Linked DNA regions of Homo sapiens: regions 1 and 2 are each linked to region 3. Evidence: promoter capture Hi-C in 16 types of primary human blood cells and fetal thymus (Javierre and others, 2016). All regions are on one chromosome and are shown on one strand. Each heading gives the region's core, a stretch centred on a gene start or on the middle of the fragment in contact. The rest is flanking DNA. Distances are from core to core; before and after follow the strand shown. Region 1 overlaps AHI1-DT (AHI1 divergent transcript). Region 2 overlaps AHI1 (Abelson helper integration site 1). Region 3 holds the start of MYB (MYB proto-oncogene, transcription factor).

Region 1 (3,221 bases), core at 335-2,834, 320 kb before region 3:
CTCTTCCTGATTTTTTGTCGTTAACTGATTAGCCATTCTCCACCCAGTTACCTGAGCCAGAAACCTCGGCACCTTTCAAACTTCTTTTATAGTTTTAAAATAATTATAAACTTACAGAAAAATTGCAAGAATAGTATAAAGAACTTCTGCTTTCGCCCAAATTCCCTGTTAACATTTGCTTTATCATTTTCTTTATGTATATTATTTATGTTTATATTTATTTACAGTATTTATGTATACTTTTTTCCTGAACCATTTGAATAGGTTGCAGATATGAAGCCTCATCACCTTTAATACTTCAATATGTATTTTCTAAAACCAAAAATATCTATGTCACTATAGTCATCAAAATCAGGAAATTAATATTGTTAAAATACTACCATCTAATCCAGAGACCCCATTCAAATTGTTAGTTGTCCCAATAATATCCTTATAGCAAAAGGATTCAATTCAGAATCATGTATTCCACTTAATTGTCATGTATCTTAATTCTCCTTCAATCTAAAAACGTTCTTTAGTTGTTCCTTTGTCTTTCATGACCTTGATCTTTGAAGAGTACAGGTCTATTATTTTGTAGAATGTCCCTCAATTTGGGACATTTGGGTTGTCTGATTTTTTCCTCACGATTGATTCGGATTACACATTTTTGGCAGGAATGTCACAGAAGTGTATTCTAAGTGCCTCTAACCAGGACATACACGATGCTGATTTGTCTCATGACTGCTGATGGTAACTTCGCTCACCAGTGCCAGATTTCTACACTGTCAAGTTTTCTAATTTTTCTCTGTGTAATTAATAAGTATTTGCTGGAGAGATACTTTGAGACTATATAAATATTATATGTCTCTTAATACTCTCACCCTCTAGTTTTAGCATACACTGATGATTCTAGTCTGAATCAACTGTTACTATCATGACTGCCAAATAATGATGTTTCTACATATAACACTGTCTACATTCATTACATTTAGTTGGCATTTTTATGTAAGGCAGAGCTTTTCTTTATCCTGATTTTTCAAAAAAATCATTTATTCATTTTAGTATGGGCTCAAATATTCCTATTTTATTTAGCGGACTATAATCCATTAACATTATATTGGTGCTCAGATTGACCCAGATGTGGCCAGTGGTGGCTCCTTCAAGCTGGCTTCTGTGACCTTTTGATATGTTTCTTCATTCTGTATTAACTTCCTTAACTTCTGGTGCAACAAGAATTTTCCAGGCTCCTGTTCTAAAATCAACCATTTCTCCAAGGGACCCAGTTACTTTTAGTGAATAATACTGTTCAGAAACCAAGATCTAGGCACATGTGCTCATTGCTTCTAGTATACCATTACTCTGAAACCCTTTCAGCAGATAGAGCTAGGAAGAGCATAATAGATAGATACGCACACACATACAGACATACTTTCCTCTATATTTATTTTTACATATGTTTATGTATATATTGAAAACTATGAGTTGACACTGACATATTCAATTCCAATTCAACATCACCACAAAGGTCACTGTGGAATTCTTCCTCTCTCAATTTGTAACGTCCTTCTCTGTCAGTGAGAAACCTGGCTCCCATTAGACCCAACATATTTATTTCCTCACTCCCCTTTCATGCTTGCCACCTCTTTACTTGCCAAGGGGAAGGCAAAACAGCTGGTCATCGTTTTTTATTATTTCTTATCATTCACTCTTCCATCCAATCAATCACTAAGTCCTGACATTTTTACCTCCTAAAAATTTCTCAAATTGGTCCATTTCTCTCCATTCTGATTTTTCTTAGCCTTGACCATGCCACCTTTGTCTCTTACATGGCTTACAGCAACGGCATCTTAAATGGTATTCCCAGATCTAGATTTGCTTCCTTCCTGTCTGTTCTCCACCCTGCAGCCAGAGTTATCTTTATGATATTAAAATTTGAAAATTTCACTCCATAAAATTCTATAGTGGTATTCCACTGACCAATACTGTCTGGGTCTCTTCATAGCTTGTTTAACTCTCTTGTTTTGTCTCCTCCAAAAGCCCCTAGTCTCATTCTCTACCTTTTAGTTAGCCAACTTGAACTTTTTTTTTTTTTCTTCCAGTTCTTGTATTATACCAAACTTTCTTGTAGTGAACACTATACGCCACCTTCTTCTACCTGGAAACCCTTCCTAACCTGGACAACTCTACACATTATTTTGGTCTTTACTTAAATGTCACTTCTGCTATGAAATATTCCCTGACCTCCCCCACCCCACTGCACCTCTGCATGCTACTGTAAATGGAGAAGCAAGAGATGATAACAGGGTTACACATCCGCTAGTCTGGGGATTGTATTCTGAAACTAACACCCTACTAAGAATGAGCAGTCAGAGTTATAACTTCCCTTTGGAAAAGCAGGTACTTAAATGCAGTTGTGAGGACAGATGAAAAGTACATAAAACACCTACAATGCATACCTCCTAGAAGGAGCTCAATATATGTTATCCATTATTCATTCAACAAATGTTCATGAAATGCCAACTATTTCATAGACACTGTGGTAGATGCTGGGGATAGAGAAAATACAAAGTAAACTATGAAACTATAGAATGAGCATCCAAAGTCTAATATATAGAATGAGTATCCGAAGTCTAATAGGGAGTAGGAGTGTTTGAAGGAGTCAGTCAACCTGCTTAAGATTCAAAGGATGGACAACATTTGGCTGTGATGCAGGAGTGTAAAAGGAGGAATTTTCAGGAAGAGAGGACAATATGAGTAAGGACGGGGCGTGAAAGGCTATGGATTGTTTTTCATGGTACACATAATTCAATGTTGCATAAAACTGCATGGTACACATGATTCAATATTGCATAAAATTGGAACAAGAAGCTAACGAGAGATGAAACTAGTCAGGGAGATGGAGAATCTTGTATCCTAGGCAAAGTAATCATTTTCTCTTACAGATTGCCTTTCAAAAATTTTCAGCAGGAGAGTGCCATTATCCGATTTACATTTTTAGTCAGGTCATTCTGATAGCAGTGTGGAGAATTTAAGAGTCAAACTGGAGTCAGAGAACTGGTAAAGGGCCCATCTGAGGAAGTTAAAAAGAGAGAATGGATATGCTTTGGCATAAGATGCATTTAGGATACTCTACTGTTCTTACTAAAACACTGGGAGGATTGTGGTGGCTTACAGCAAGATAGAAATCTAGGAGAGTATGTTTAGAACGGAAAGTTGAACAGCTCAGTTCGGTACGCATTGGA
Region 2 (3,510 bases), core at 442-2,941, 260 kb before region 3:
ACATGTATATACTTCTGCCACAAGCTGAGCAGAATTTAAGCTTTTACTAAAGTGTTCTTACTAGATTAGCATTTTATGCAGTGGCAAGAAGCATTGCTGATACAATTTTGCAATGTTTTACTTGTTTTTATAAAGAATGAAGTGGTTTATTTTATGCATATGAGCTGCTACCAGATGAAATTTATCCAAAATCTTAATTTATTCAAACATCTAATGTAGAAATAAGAGCTTACTATTCTTACTTATTCATCTTCATTTTCTATATTTTATATCACATTTGACTTTCTTTTTGAGGCTGATTTTACAGATACATTTTAAAATCACTTTGAGTTAGAATACTTTAAGCATGATATGGAGAGAATAACACTTAGATTATGCCCTTGGGGAACTTCCAAGTTAGGTGGGAAAAGAAAGCAGTTACATTGTTGTTTATTTTCAGATATGCTTCAGAGAAGTCTTGATGAAATGAGGAAATGTAGGTATAAAGATGATTGTACAGATCAGCAGTTCTCAAAATGTAGTTTGGAGACCTCTGGGAGTTCTGAGTCCCTTTCAGGGGGTTCTTGAAGTCAACTTCTTTTCATAATGATTCTAAGGTGTTACTAGTCTCATTCAGATTCATTCTCTTACAAGTATGTACTAGCATTTTCTAGAGGCTAAATAACGTGATATCACAAGAGAGCAGAGGCACTTACGAAAATCTAGATTTTATTCAGCTAGACATTTAAAGTTAGCAAGTTACTTTTATTTTATTTTTATGAAAACTCCAAATAGCCTCCAAAAAAATGTTCCAAGAATGTAAAGCATCTCGAAACTAAAAACATTTGAGAATTGCAGATATGAAGACTGAACTACAATGGTGGAAGAAGGGCTCATTCAACAGTGGAGCTTGAGATAGACTAGGATGCTCAAGGTAGGGGTGAGTGAAGGAGGGACAAGGGCGGGTATTTCATATGAAGGCAAAGTTGCAAATAAGTGGGAAAGGACCTGTTGTATTCATTAGGCACTCAAAAGCTTAGCTGGTTGGAAACCAGAGTTTGTAAAAGAGGAGATAAAGTAGTGTACTGGATGAGGCCCACATTGTGGAGTGTCTCAAATGGTAGCCTAATACTTGATTGTGAGGGATGTGAGGAATAATGGAAGGTTTTCGGGTGAGTGAGAAAAATAACAATTGTATTTGAGGATGAATTAATGCAGGCAGTGGCATGGGGAGATCTTGAAGTAGTAACATCAGAATTAGATGGCAGTCATTGATGTGTGAGGTGATGAGGGTCTAATGAATACGAGAGACAGAAAGTAGGAACCAGCATGATTTAGTGACTGACAAGGTAGTAAAGGAGGAGAAACAGTCAAGGCTTTTGAGGACCTTTATTGTTGTTATCAGACTTTCATTGAGTGTCTGTTGTGGATAGGGCACAGAGTCAAACCCTGAGAATACAAAGAACATGATAGTGGGTTCAATGTTTTCATTTTCAGCCTAGGTGATTGGGCACAGAGTTTTCCTTAATTACACTTCCTACTCTAGGAGCAGCAGCAAGTGGTTATAAAGCCTCCTGACATTTCTTTCAGTTTTTGTTACCTTGTTACCCTCCTCTCCCTTTTCTTAATTATGTGGTTGGAGGATGCAGAGAAAAGATGGGTAGCATGGAGTCTGGAGAATGCAGAGAAAGGATGGGGAGCATGGAGTCTGGTACATGATTGACACTTAACAAATTCTTTTGAATTTTTCACATTCCTAGTAGCTGGTCATAATGCTGTCTCCAGAGGAACTGCTAGATCTTGGTACTATTTGTGAAAAACCTGGTACCTGTCTAGAAAGCATGCCCTTGAAGTAACAGTCTTTGAGTAGGTCCATTAAGCTAGGCTTGACCCTTTGAATAATCCCTCTTAGCCATATAGAGCTAATAATGGTTACTCTTAGCTAGTAATAGCTACTCATAGGGTGGCTGTGATGAATATATTCAAAGACCTTTGTAATAAAGTACAACTTTCATGACATATAGTAAGAGCCCAGTATATGTTTACTTCAACTTTTTGAATTATAAGAAACAGAAGAACTAAGGCTCACTGAAGGTTGCAAGAGATAGAATTAGGATAAATAAACGTAACTGGTATTTTCTACAGTAGACATTAATACCCAGAAAATTTGGGCTTCATCTGGTAGAAGAGGGTGAAAACATTAAAATTTTGAAGAAATTGTAATAATGAATGAGAGACCAATAAGGGCCGATTGATTACTTTGAAAATACATTTTGGAAGGCAGCCACAAAAGGTGATTATTTTAAGATAGGCAAAGAGAGAATAAGCATTCATACATTCTGGCTTAAGCTAGGCCCCATAGGTACTTGTGGTCTTAAAAAAAGCTTGTGACTTTAACAAAAGTGACTTACTAGTGCTGTCATAGAATAAGGCTGTGACATACATTCTTTTAGTAGCTATATAGAAGCAGTGTGGCAGTGATGGCTTTAGAGTATCAGATATTGAAATTTTTCTATTCATATTTAGGTGAATTAAGTACTACTTAAACATGAAGAACAAACCCACTTTAAAAATTTCATGGACACTGATTCTCTTTTTACAAAGCAATTTACTATGGTTTTTCACCATTCTGCGTACTTGTTTTTCTCTTTCTCTGCATCATAAAAGGACTTAAAAGAACTACAGTAATTGAAATTAAAAACTAGCCTTCGCGTTTTAATGTTTGCTAATTTATATTTTTTAAACGTATGTTTTTTAGGCTTGCCGTATCCCAAACAAACACCTCTTCTCACTAAATGCAGGAGAACGAGGATGTTTTTGTCTTGATTTCTCCCACAATGGAAGAATATTAGCAGCAGCTTGTGCCAGCCGGGATGGATATCCAATTATTTGTGAGTAATAATCCTACCTGTTTAATCTGATTGTAGTCCACGTGGAGGACATTCTTTAGTTTTTTTAAATTCATGGAAATCTTAACTTGAGTAATCCCCTGTACTACTAAATTAAAGAAAACGGATTTCTTCAAACAAAGAAAGTTCTTTTGTAATAATTTTACACTTTTCTATACAGTAACTGTTCGTAAGTAGAATGAGATTGATCAAATGAAAGATGGTAAATTTATTTTTAAAACATGCAGGAGGATTTTTGTAAACATTTTGTATTTTAAATATAGAAATTTGGAAACAAGGATGAATAAATCTCATGGGGAACATTAGTCCAATGTGGCTAGTTGATAGCAGTGATGATTTGAGTTACAAAAGCCTCCAGATTTGCTGTGTAGTGGAATACCAATAATTGACTCAAGAGTACCTAGATGAAAACTTCTCATTATGATAGAGAAGTCAGCAGAGAGGCCAAGCAATTATTTCTGTTGCTTTAGAGACATTCTAAAGTGAGCATTATCATACTGTTCTAGACTTAGAAGCATTAAATACTCTCTCCTTTACTTCTGACTCAATAATAAAACCAGCTCTCCTCTGCAGAAGTAGCCAGCTCCTTGTGGGCATCTGCCCTAAACACTAGATCTTATTG
Region 3 (3,584 bases), core at 608-3,107:
CTACCTGGAGCCTCAGGGAACCTGCGCGGCCCCGCCCCGCGGGGGCGGCCGAGACCTCGGGGCGCGGAGCCGCTGCCGCGCCTCCTCCCAGCACCCCTGCCCGACTCCCTCCTCCTGCTGCCAGTTTCAGCTCTCGAAAAAAAAAAAAAAAAAAAAAACAGATGACCCCGGTAGCTGTCCTGTGAAGTCCTAAAGGCGAAAAGTGGAGCCCTCGAGGGGCAGCACACCGTCCTGCGCGGCCAGGCTCCGGAGTAGGCATAGGGAGCCCGGAGCTCCCCCAAGTCGCCCTCTCGTCCCCAGAGCCCAACCAAGCCCCGGCGCTGCTCCCCGCCCAGCCCAGCCCGCGGGTGCTGCTGCAGGGTCTCCACCCACGCTCTTTGCAACTTCCCAGCGCCGCGCGGGGACCAGCGCCCGCAGGCTCAACAACAAACCAGTAGGAGAAAATCAAACAATCTAAGGAAAGGCGAATGGATTTGCTTTGCCTCCATGGACTTCGCCTTAGAACTCCTTCGCGAGGGTCTGTCCGGTCACCGCGCCTCGGCCGGGGCGACCTAAGGCGGCTGAAGGAGGGTGCGAGAAGGCGCGGCGACCTCAGCCGCATCCACGTGTGCGCGCCGCGCAGGGACCTTTCGCCTGGGGGCAGAGCCCGCGGGGATCGCGTCCCGGTTGCGCGGCAGCGGCCTTGGGTGCTGCCGGCCTCTGTCCCCTTGAGCCGAGTGGCGACTGCGACGGCTGCCGAGCTAGCCCTGGCACCCGCCGCTCGCAGGGAGCCCCGGCGTGTGCTGCTGGGAAAGTCCAGAGGCCGGTGGAGACTGGGGAACGAGCAACTGACAGTTCGGACGAGGATTTCCCTCCTCCTCCTCCTCTCCCTCTTCCCATCTGTCCGGCCAAAAATGTGAAGGGACTGCACCCATCTTCCCGGCGAGCCTCCCTAAGTGCAGTGACATGTGCGACGGCGGCGCGTGTGGGTGCGCGTGCAATGTTTGCAGTGGAAGTAAAAGCCTTTCAGAGAAAAATGATTCGAACCTCCAAAACCAGGTCTTAAGACAATTTGCAAAAGTAGAGACCCCTTTATCCCCCTAAAATCTGCTTTTCAGCCGCCTGTCAGCTGACACTGGTCCTCGCCTCCATAAAGAATGAATGAAATTTAAATGAACTACCTGCAGCTACTAAACAATCCAGCATTTTCCCTGTATCTGCCATATGCTCTGCACTTCCAAGTCCAAACATATCTCAATGCATCCAGCAATTACGCTGCGGATCCCTCGCCGACACCCGCGGCATCAAGCCAGGCACCTGGTGGGCTCCCCGGGGCTGGTGGGCACCGCTCTGCCCTCGGCTGGAACGTGCTTTCTTTTTCCCCCTAAAGAAAAATGTATCCCCATGCAACTTGCAAAATGAGCCGCAGGGCGTGCTTCCCAACGTCCGGATACATTTCCCGCAAAGACTCTTCCATTCATCAGTCTCTGGAGCGGCTTCTGCTGCCGAGGCAGGGGCTCCAGGTCCTCGGAGGGTCTGACAGCCCCTCAGATGATCCCGGAACGAATTCCCACCTGCTCCCGGGAGCCTGGCGCCCCGCGCGCCCCCGCGCGCCCCCGCCCTCGGCCGCCCGCCCGGCTCCCCGTTACCTGTGCCGGGGTCTTCGGGCCATGGCGCGGCGGGCGCGGGGCTCCGCCGAGAGCCGCGGGGACCGCACCGGGCTGCCGCCTCCCGCTGCCCGCCGCCTGCCTGCGTCCCTCCCCGGCTGCGCAGCGGCGCTCCGCACCGCTGGGGCGAAGTTTCTCAGGAGAAAGAGGAGGAGGAGGTCACGGAGGAGGAGGAGAAGGAGGAGGAGGAAACAGGTTGATATTAAAGTGTAAACTCTGTAAACAGAGATGCCATCAAACAAAGAGCTTTGGACACTCCCCCTCCCGCCAAATCTGGCGCCCCTGCAGTGCGCACGCGCCCTGCCCGCCGCCTCCGCGGTCGCCCTGGCTGCCGCCCGCGGGGCTGCCGGGCTGGCCGGGTCGCCGCTCCCATTCGGCGCTCGCGCCGCCGCGGTGCGCCTAGCGCGCCGCGAGGCCCGGGAGGCGCGCGGGCAGGGAGCCCGGGGCCAGGGAGGGGTGGCCGGGGGCCGCGACGGCGCCTTTTCCTGAGCAAACCCCGCTCCCGGGTCGCGGCGGCGCCGACCCGCGCCCAGTCCCGCCGCCTCCCCTCCTCCCTGGCTGCCGCACCGCGGTCGCCCGGCTCCGCGTGCTCCCGGGCAGCGGGACCAGAGCTCCTCCAGCTCCCACTCACTGTCGCGGGGGCGGCAAGCGGTGGGGGGAAATTCCCGCACAGAAGATTGGATTTTCGTCAAGGTTTACAACTGTGCCCTCTGGAGACGGGGAAATTAGGAGTTGGAGGAGTAGGGGATGTGAGCATATGTATTCATAGGCTGTTTGGCTAGGGTTTTTTTTCCTTCTTCTTAAATAAATAACATCTCTAATTTAACTTGTTAGTGACAAAGGACGCTTCAATACAAGTGGGCGGCAACCATCACCGCTCACTAATGGAGCGCCCCAGCGGAGCTTTCACTCCCCTCCCGGATCCTGCAGCCGCCACCGTCGTATTGTCACATGTCCTTCACTCTCACCCCAGCACACACCCGGGCCCCACCCACCCCGCCCCGCCCGGCCCAGGCGGTGCCCACCGCACACCTTTGCTCCCCTCCCTGCACAGAGCGCGCACCCTGGATTGCACACCTGCAAAAAAAAAAAAAAAAAAAAAAAAAAAAAAAAAATACACGGGGGTCCAGACAGCCCGCCCCTAGCAGAACTCAGGAAACCCCACGTTTGCATGCATGGTTTTAGAAGTAAAACAGTTTGTGATTTTGGAGGTCGGTATCCCTGCTTAGTGTCATTTGAGGGCTCTATTTTACGAGATAAAAGTCAGCAAAGGCTTTCGTGTTGTTTAATGAGGGTCTCCAGAAGTAAAGGAAGAAGATAAGTGCTGAATTTATAAGGATTGATGACTGGGGGGATTTTAGGGGAGTTTTAGTTTTACTTCCGTTTATAGATTAGAACCATTGGGGATTTTTTTTTCATTCTCTGTACACACTAATGTATTTTTCCTTTAATCTTTTAGGAGTTTGAGACTTCTGCTGACTGGGTTTGTGGGTGTCCCATGTGCCCCAGCAGTTCAAACTTAGCTCAGAAAGCATTTTTTCTTACTAAAAAAGCATGTTCTTACTAAAATGAGTCATAATTTTATTAAACGGTGAAGCATGCGAGGTTTCAAGACTATCTGGTGTTTTAGACTTTCTTTAAAATTGTTATATAGTTTAAATCTTTATCAAGTGTTAGTTGCTAGTAAGGTTTTAACATTCCTTTCCTCCTGAGAAGAAAATAACACTGAAACAAAATTATTGTGAGATATTTCGGATCACAATTACAAAGGACAAGGCAAATTAATACTTTTAAAGCCAATATTTATTTCTAGATTCTATAATAATTTTCTTTCTTCACATCAAAAATAAACAAAATCTTTTAAAAATATCTAGAATAAACATCTAGAAACCACCCCTAAAGAAATTGCATTCTGGCTTTCGGATTGCTTTATGAATC

What was found. The method cuts DNA at HindIII sites, captures the fragments that hold promoters and counts their contacts. A CHiCAGO score of 5 or more calls a contact.
Region 1: a fragment that was not itself captured here is called in contact with the fragment with the promoter of MYB in region 3 in 1 of 17 cell types (fetal thymus); the score reaches 7.8 in fetal thymus.
Region 2: a contact is called between a fragment that was not itself captured here and the fragment with the promoter of MYB in region 3, in 3 of 17 cell types (fetal thymus, erythroblasts and megakaryocytes). The highest score is 10.5, in fetal thymus.

The regions. Positions count from the first base shown.
Region 1 is chr6:135,498,656-135,501,876 of GRCh38, reverse strand. The region is part of intron 2 of AHI1-DT (AHI1 divergent transcript); the gene reads right to left. Among named protein-coding and RNA genes, the nearest start is that of AHI1-DT, 2.5 kb to the right of the region's middle. The HindIII fragment of the contact is 6,529 bases long and covers 1-3,221 here.
Region 2 is chr6:135,441,942-135,445,451 of GRCh38, reverse strand. AHI1 (Abelson helper integration site 1) reads left to right here. Exons shown (of 29, transcript NM_001134831.2): 14 at 2,738-2,870. Among named protein-coding and RNA genes, the nearest start is that of AHI1, 54 kb to the left of the region's middle. The HindIII fragment of the contact is 1,349 bases long and covers 1,017-2,365 here.
Region 3 is chr6:135,179,581-135,183,164 of GRCh38, reverse strand. It overlaps MYB (MYB proto-oncogene, transcription factor), which reads right to left and starts at 1,857. Exons shown (of 16, transcript NM_001130173.2): 1 at 1,629-1,857. The coding sequence starts at 1,651. RefSeq lists silencers at 610-689, 1,739-1,788, 1,849-2,068, 2,139-2,188, 2,629-2,738 and 2 more. The HindIII fragment of the contact is 5,797 bases long and covers 1-3,584 here.